Linked DNA regions of Homo sapiens: all the other regions are linked to region 1. Evidence: promoter capture Hi-C in 16 types of primary human blood cells and fetal thymus (Javierre and others, 2016). All regions are on one chromosome and are shown on one strand. The core of a region is centred on a gene start or on the middle of the fragment in contact, and the rest is flanking DNA. Distances in the headings are between cores, read along the strand shown. Region 1 holds the start of CD99L2 (CD99 molecule like 2). Region 2 has its middle 76 kb from the start of MIR4330. Region 3 overlaps MTMR1 (myotubularin related protein 1).

Evidence for each region. The method cuts DNA at HindIII sites, captures the fragments that hold promoters and counts their contacts. A CHiCAGO score of 5 or more calls a contact.
Region 2: a contact is called between a fragment that was not itself captured here and the fragment with the promoter of CD99L2 in region 1, in 1 of 17 cell types (M2 macrophages). The highest score is 5.3, in M2 macrophages.
Region 3: a contact is called between a fragment that was not itself captured here and the fragment with the promoter of CD99L2 in region 1, in 1 of 17 cell types (monocytes). The highest score is 5.5, in monocytes.

The regions. Positions count from the first base shown.
Region 1 is chrX:150,897,321-150,900,166 of GRCh38, reverse strand. It overlaps CD99L2 (CD99 molecule like 2), which reads left to right and starts at 1,499. Exons shown (of 11, transcript NM_031462.4): 1 at 1,499-1,645. The coding sequence starts at 1,579. RefSeq lists a silencer at 1,215-1,824. The HindIII fragment of the contact is 7,642 bases long and covers 1-2,559 here.
Region 2 is chrX:151,090,997-151,093,842 of GRCh38, reverse strand. No RefSeq gene overlaps it. Among named protein-coding and RNA genes, the nearest start is that of MIR4330, 76 kb to the left of the region's middle. The HindIII fragment of the contact is 8,072 bases long and covers 1-2,846 here.
Region 3 is chrX:150,744,647-150,747,492 of GRCh38, reverse strand. The region is part of intron 13 of MTMR1 (myotubularin related protein 1); the gene reads right to left. Among named protein-coding and RNA genes, the nearest start is that of MTMR1, 53 kb to the right of the region's middle. The HindIII fragment of the contact is 4,726 bases long and covers 1-2,846 here.

The DNA.
Region 1 (2,846 bases), core at 250-2,749:
CCCCAACCTCAAGGAACCTCCATTTTGCTGCTTTTCCCTCGTTAATAGGTGATGATACATAAGGCATTGTGAGGAATAAAAATTAAGGGTAAAATGCCTGGAATATGCCATGTGTATAGTGTGTGTTCAATAACTACCAGCTATTTCTGTTAATTCTACAGCTAGAATGGAATAATGTTCCATTCATAGAGTAATTAATGCCCTGAGCCTGGGAAGATCCACTCCTCATATGCTGTTTTGTTTCTGCAGCCCTAAGATTCAGGGCAATGGATGTAAGCCACACGGGAGATTTCGGCTCCATCTCAGGGAGACCCCACACCCCACTGTTCCTTAGGGGTTGGTGGGAGCCACTGAGGGGGGTGCCTATGGCAGCGAGGGCTGGGTTGGGGGCACAGGAAAGCTGCCGAATGGATATTGAGGGGAGGTGGTAGTAGCCGCCCTCTAAGGAGGATGTGGCCCTGGGCAGCCGGTGCCGCATAATGGCAGGGACAGGCTCACGCTACCACTCCGGAGAGCAGTAGCGCTTCCTCTTTGTCTTCGAGAGCCGGTTGCAGCTGGGGCTCTTCTAGGGAGCGTTCCCATCAACTGCTGCAGCGGGCATTTTGCTGGTCGGCACAGTATCGTATCGGAATCTGATTTCTTCGGGTCTGGGAGACGGACTCCGTTTGCGGGGGTTCATGGGAAAGGACTGCAGCGCGTTTGTCGGTCATTAAGCACGTTTTTGAGATCGACTCTGCAGATATGAACTTGCACTTTCAGCGCATTCATCAAAGCCTCGGGAGAGCTGACCCAGTCCCTACCCCCAGTCTCCCGAGCCCGCGGCGCTTCGGCTCCGGGACGCCCCCATCCTCCCCTGTCGCCCACCCGGGCGCCCCCGGCCTCGTTTTCTCGAGACGTGTCACTGCTTGTTGACCGCAGCCAGTCACGAAAACGGTCCTTTTCTTCAGTCTCCGGCCAGGGTTTCACTCCTGCAGGGAACAGCGGGTGGGGACAGAGTGCGGGGCTCCGTGCTGGACGGTGTCTGGAGGGGCCCCAAGGGAACAACCCTTCACCGGGAGAACACCAAGGCCAGAAGGGGAAGAGCCCTTCTCAAGGTCACCCGGGAGGAAATCGGCGCCCACCGGCGCTGCCGCCTCCCGCTCCCCGGCACTGGTGACTCACTGCTCCAGGTCCGCGGGGCCACCTCCGAGACTTCGGTCTCGAGGACCGAGGTGGGACAGGGTCTGCGGACCGCGCGCTGCCGCTGGACCCAGCCCAACCCAACCCAGGCCTCCCCACCCACCGGGTGCCCGCAGGCCACGCCCCTCGCCCGGAGCCCCGCCTCCAGAACGCGGCCCCGCCCCCGATACTGCAGCCTCGCCCCGCCCCCCGGCCTAACCCCAGCCCAGGCGCCCTCAGGCGCCGGCTCTCTAGCGCGCCCGACCTCCATCTTCCCGGGGCCGCGCCGCGCGCGCGCGCGGGCTTTGGGCGGGACCCTGCAGAGGCGGCGGGGCTCCTCCTCCCGCTCCTCCTCGGCCTCCCCTTCGGGCGCTCTCGCGCTAACTGTGCTCCTCCGGGGCCCTCCGCCTGCTCCCAGCCATGGTGGCCTGGCGCTCGGCGTTCCTTGTCTGCCTCGCTTTCTCCTTGGCCACCCTGGTCCAGCGAGGTAAGGCGGGCGGGGGGCGCGCGGGGACCGCGCGGGGACCCCGCCTTGTGGGCCCAGGGGTCGCTCTGCGCATGAGCGGCACGGTCCCCGCCTCTCGGGCCTGCGGTGGCTGCCACCGGCCGGCCCGGCTGTGCGAGGCGGAGCGGCGGGGGTCCGAGCCCCGGGCCCGTGGGGGTTGACTCCGCCGCGGTCGGAGTAGCCGGAGAGGAGGGGTGGGTCCCCTCCTGACGCTGGGCTGGAAACAGCGGGATGGGCCCCCTAAAATCCTGAACGAGCAGGTGTACCACTGGTGACAACAGCTGTCCCCAAGAGTTTACCTTTGAGAAAACCTTGAAGAGAGCAGTCATTTTCGAAATTTGCTGCGAGGCCACCGACAGCAGAAGCACCTGGGGAACTTCCTAGGTGGATTCCTAGCCCCTTTCATCGGGATCACAGCGGGCATGGGCTGTGGGGGGGGGGGGGGGGGGTCAGCGAGGCGTAGGTCTAACCAGCTCTCTAGGTGCTTCTGCCGTCCGCTTCAGTTTTTGAGACTTTGGTCATGTTTTGCCAAGGAGCAGGAGAGAGAAATCCCGCTGAATCAAGGAAGCACGTTTCTTAGACCCTCTGCTACTCAAAATGTGGTCCAGGGCCCAGCCGCATAGGCATCACCTGGGAGCTTGTAAGAACTGCAGCATCTCACGCCCCGCCCCCGACCTACTGAGTCTGATTCTGCATTTCAACTAGATCCGCGGGTGATTCTCTGGCACATTCAAGTTTGAGAAGCATCTTAGTAGAATAAATGCAGTCTGTGGTTAAAAATAGGGTCTTAAACATGTACCAACAGAATCTTCTTACACTTATTTATATCCTATGTCCCCATCAGAAAAAGGGATTAAGGGAAACACTGTAATTGAACGTGAATTATGCTCCAAGCTTCCTGACAATAGAAGCGAACCCAGCTGGTGGAAAATATGTGAGCTCAGGAAACACACACACACACACACACACACACACACTTTGTCCTAGTACTGAGTTCTAGTAAGATTTATGTCACATAAAGGAACACTGGAAAACAGTGGATGGTACTAGCCAAGCCACTTTTGCAAAAGATGCAGAAATGTTTTTCATGTGGGCAACCCACCTGGAGTTGATTCACGAAGAGCCATTTAACATTCTGCAGAGGTGCCAGGCTCTGTTCTAGGAACTGATGATGCGGTAGTGA
Region 2 (2,846 bases), core at 190-2,689, 190 kb before region 1:
ACTTGAATATACATTTCTCAAAAGAAGACATATAAATGGCCAACGGGTATTAAAAAGGTGCTCAACATCATTAATTGTCAAGGAAATGCAAATCAAAGCTGCATACTTGGGAGGCCGAGGCAGGAGGATCTCTTGAGTCCAGGAGTTTGAGGCTGCAGTGAGCTATGATTGGACCTCTGCACTTTAGCTTGGGTGACAGACCAAGACCCCATCTCTAACTAACTACAAAACAAAACAAAATACCGCAAACAAGAGAGTGAAAATCAGTATGTTGTAGAGATATTGGTGCCCCTGTGTTCACTGCAGCATTATTCACAATAGCCAAGATATGGAAACAACCTAAATGTCTATGGATGGATGAATGGATAAAGGAAGTCTAGTACATACGTACAGTGGAATATTATTCAGCCTTTAAAAAAAGAAGGAAATCCTGACATTTGCAACAACATGGATGAACCTGGAGGGCATTTTGTTAAGTAAAATAAGTCAGGCAGATAAAGACAAGGGGGAAGAGAGAAATAGGGAAGTGATGGTCAAATGGTACAATGTTTTAGTTATGCAAGATAAATAAGTTCTGAAGGTCTACTATACTATGCTGTAAGAGACTAGATCTTATGAAGTGTTGTTAACACACACCCAAAAACAATAATAAAGAGGGCAGGAGGAAACAGTGGGAGGTGATGGAAATATTTATGGCCTTGATAATGGTGATGGTTTCACAGGCGTATACTTATCCCCAAACTCCTTGAGATGTACACATTAAATATGCACAACTTTTAATGCAATATACCTCAATAAAGTGGTTAAAAAAAAGAAAATGTTCCAAAATTGATAGTGGTGATGGTTGCACAACTGTGAATGTACTTTAGAAACCACTGGATTGTACCCTTTGGAAGAGTGAATTTTGCGGTGTGTGAATTATTTCTCAATAAAACTGTTATTTTTTAAAATGCAGTCAGAGCTACAGCGAGATGATATTTCAGATTCCTGAACCCATTGGAATGATTTTTTTTTCAGATTTTCTTCCCTGGAATATTGTCATCATAGCAGTAACCTCCCTGAGCCCTGCTCATCCTCCTAGCCTTCACTACCCAGGCCTGTGAGTCAGGCTCCTTTCTCTGATGCTTTTGCCACCACTGTTTGCTAATTTTCCAAGAACCCTGCTTTCACCTGCTAAAAGGATCCCACTCTGCCCTGCCCTTCATGATATTAGGGTAATTCCTGCTATCTGCTTGTCTGCTCCCCTCTTGGATCACCCTAACCAATGGCAAAGGAAAGCGCATAGTTACTGGTTGTATGAATATTTCCAGATATTTACTCTATTGGTTTGGGGGTTTCTCACACTTCAATTTATTATCCTCTTATCAGCAGCTCCAGCTACTGGGCCTTCATTATATATTAATTGCCAGTGCCAATTGTCATTATTTTTTATATTAAAAATCCATCTATAAACACACTTCAGCAGCTCCACCACCTCACCATCATTGCTCATTTAATCTCCCTCCTCCTCTATTAGAGCAGCAGGGGGCTAACCAGAGCAGGAGACACTGGGGCTAATCAGATCACTAGTTTGTCTGAACATTAAGCTCAACAGGAACTCAGTAGGATGTACTAGGTCAGGTAAGGGCAGATTCAATCTTCCACCAGCTCTGAGGACCAACAGCGGAGGGACCTGGAATCAGAGACAATTAAAGGATGAACCCCAGCTTGAAGGGGCTGATGGTAAAGACTGGGTGACTGTTAGGTGGGGTGGCTATAACTGAGGGCTCTGTGAAGGCATGATTTGATGAGAAGAATTTCCTGGCTTATGCAACACTACTCATCATCTGACCTGTTCACTCACCATTTCTCAGAACTCCTAATGCAGGGAGCAGTGGTAGAAAATGTGTTGGCCAGCAAGTTAGGAGACCAGGGACTTGTCTGAACTCTATTCCTAAGTGTGATTCTTGGAAAACTCCATAACCTCTCAGGGTATCACATTCTTCAACTGGGGGCAATAATCCCTACCTTGCTGACACCTCAGAGTTTTGATAAGGGCCAAATGAAAAAAAAAAAAAAACTTCAGTGAGTATGTATTACTTGTTAAGCACTACTTTAAGGGAGTATTGTTCTTTGCACTTTGCATGCATTAACTCCTTTAATTTCCTCAGTAGTCCTATAAGGTAGGTACTATCATGGTCTCATTGCACTGATGGGGACATTGAGGCACAGAGGAGGCAAACAATTCTCTCAAGCTCACTTGTGTATGTGGCTGTTTCACATACACATGAACAGCACAGTGGTGTTCAGCCACTGCACTGTTCAACCACCCCTAGTCTATAAAATCAAACTCTAGTCTGGCTTTCTTAACTGGAGTCTTTCTCTACCTTCTCATTCTGAGCCCTGGCTTTCACCCGCGTATCTTGGGAGCCCCTCACCTAAGAGTAGGAGAAGGGTAAGCATTCTCCTCATTCTATAGTGCTTTGCTCAGGCCACTGTTCTGCCACCTGCATGTAAAACCCCCTAATTTTTAGCCACTCAGTCTATCTAGTTGGTTCCACCACTCTATTTCCCTCCTGGTTGCCATCATCTAATGACCTCCTAGTCATGGCGCCTCAGTCACTGGAGATTTAGTTTACTGTCTTCCTCCTACTCCAAAGCTGGACTATCCTTTTGGGTGACTTTGGTGTCCAAGAGGAACCTAGCCATAACTGTACCAGTCATAGTTCAGTCAGGAAAGCAGAGCCACTGTGGGGATTCTGGGAAATCCGACTTTGCAAAAGGGTGGGAAGAGCTGGGAAGTGAAGGTCCAGAAGAGAGCATTGAAAGATCAGATCAAGAGTTACTAATGACTCCCCCTAAAGCAC
Region 3 (2,846 bases), core at 222-2,721, 150 kb after region 1:
CTATAATAAAATTCTGCACCTCCTTTTTTATTGTTTTAGAGACAGGGTCTCACTCTGTCACCCAGGCTGGAGTGCACTGGTACAATCATAGTTCACTGTAACCTTGAACTCCTGGACTCAAGCAATCCTCCTGCCTCAGCCGCCCGAGTAACTGGGACTACAGGTGCACACCACCATGCCTGGCTAATTTTTTAATTTTTTTTTTGAAGAGATGGGGTGTCTCACTATGTTGCCCAGGCTGGTCTTGAATTCCTGGCCTCAAGCGATCCTTCTACCTCAGCCTCCTGAGTCGCTGAGATTATAGGTGTGAGCCACCACACCTGGCCCCAATTCTGCACCTCTTGAGGAACAAAAATATCAATGACTATTAAACCTACCCAGAGGAGTAAGGATTGTATTAAACTATGGATATTATTGAGTGTCTTTGGGACTCTAAAGAGTCCCTCAATTATTTTTCCCTTAGTTTCTTTGTTCACATACAGACTAGTTCATTTTATTCTGATATTTCTGACAATTTTACACTGCATAGCTTACTTAACAGTAGGCAACCTAAAAATAATCTTTCCTATGACTGCATCTTATACCTGCTATATATCTCATTCATTTCTTAATGAACTGATAAAGACTAGTCATGGATGTCTGTGCTAATGCATTAACAATGTAATTTTAAAAGAAATTAATTATACACACATTTCACAGACAGAATCTTAGAGCTGTGAGAAGCATCTGAAATCTTCTAATTCAAACCCCTTTTCTTAAAATCCAATAAAAGCACAAAAATGACATGGCTTAGACATGAAAACAGGCACTAAGCAGTATAAAGAATGGAGGTCAGTTTGAAGATGTTTAAAAATCCACATTTGGGAGGAATAAGCTATTTCACATCCACCGAAATGGTGCTCATCCCTTTAGAAGCACTGCAATTATTTTTTGTGTTCAACCTTTTTATGCAATTTTTCTAAAATGTGTTTCATACTTTCTTGTCCTAACCTGAACATGACAATCATTTAACTTTCTTATTGGCTCAGCATCAACACAAATAGCAACAGTGCCTGGCTCTATAAAACAGTAAGGCTTCAGGCCAGTCTTCATGCTTCTGGAGTGTGTTTGCTGCTACCTTTCACATGCACCATCAGCACACCTACCTCTGGGACCAGCCCCTCTTACCCAGGCCAGCTCTCTAACAGGCTATCTTTAATCACCTGTGACCTGGCCATCAGATCATGTGAGACCCCAATCAGTTTGTTGAAGCTGGGTGTAAAAGTCAGTGTTAATTTCTAAGTGAGGGCCTGAGGACTCCATGAAATCTACTTTGGCTATTCAGACTCCCTCCCCTTTGTTCCTTATTTCTAGAGGTATGTCTCTGTGCTCCCTTGCCACTGAAAATGTGATCTGTGACCCGATGGCATCACCTGAGAGCTTATCAGAAATGTGGCATCTCAGGCTCTGCCTCAGCCCCACTGAATCAGAATCTGCATTTCAATAAGAGTCCCAGGGGACTTGTGTGCTCATTAAGGTTTGAGCAATGTTAGTCTACAGCAATGGTCTCCAAGTTGAGCATCCATCAGCCCCCAGAAGGGCTTGTGGAACCAGAGGGCTGGGCCCCACACCCAGAGCACTGGAAGGTCATCAGTGAGGCTGAAGTTTGGTGTCTCTAACAAGTTCTCAGGACCACATTTGGAGCACTAAGCTAGATCACTGGTTGTCAAACTCATTTGCACATCTGAATCACCTGGGGAACTTTTACACACACCTAAGCCTGTCTCCAGGCTCACAGGAAGAAGGTTCCCAGGGGCTGGCTGTGTGCACTCAAGGTGGAGAGCCATCTTCTGAGTTCTCCAGGTCCTCCTCAGGGCAGAGCTGCTGGGGAGCCGGACAGCACAGGCAGCATCATGACTATCAACCTTCCTTCTGCCCCAACACACACTGCCATCAGTAACAGTAGCTCTCAGTGGGGAAACAGGCCTAGTATTTCACAGACTTTCTGCAGTAGGGAGGCAGATGTCCTCTGAAAAGGCCCTGGGCTGATGGTGATAAGGCTGCGGGAGGATCAATCAAGAGCAGCAGGGCTATTGGTAGCATCCCCGCAGATCACCGGCAGTGTCCTGGCTGCTTCCCTTCCCCGTGACTGAAGCAGCCAAGGCCAGAGCTCCTGGTGAATGACTAGCAAGAGAAGGCTCAGACCCTGGATCTCAGCCCCCTAACTTGTTCTGTACCCCATAGCCCCACCCTCAGCCAGGTTGCGCAGCAGGCACTGGGGAAACTACTCTCTTTTGCCTCTCTCTCTGGTTCCAGGTCCATTGCCCTGGCACTGTCTCTTATCACAAGGATAGGAGACCAAACTCAGGTTTAGATGTTGGAGATGAGGGGGAAAACAACGACAACAAAACAGTGCAGGAACTATGGCCTTATGGCCTACTTTGAACTGAAGCCAAAGGGCCTGACCAGCTCAAGGGAAGGGGATCCCTAGATGGCTCCCTTCTTTACCAGGGCCCTGTGCATTGGGGTTTGGGAACGATGCACCAGCTAATAGCAAAATGCTATGCAGCTTCCTCTATGCCATTGGTTCTTGGACACTCATTTCCCTCAGTGACCTTGGGTGGGAGAGGCTCTGGACTGGGGCAGAGTGTGGAGATTCCTGGATTGCCTGGTCTAATCCCATGTACTAGCAGTTCATTCCCATCCTCATTTCTAACATCTGGCCAAATCTTAGATGAACTGCTCAGCAGGAGACTGTACTTCCTTAACCTTTTGAAGGGGAGCAAAAGCAGCAGAATCTATAGAGGAGTAGGGCCTTGGTTTGGACCTAGTGGACAAGATGATTGATAAAAACCATTTGCAAAGAC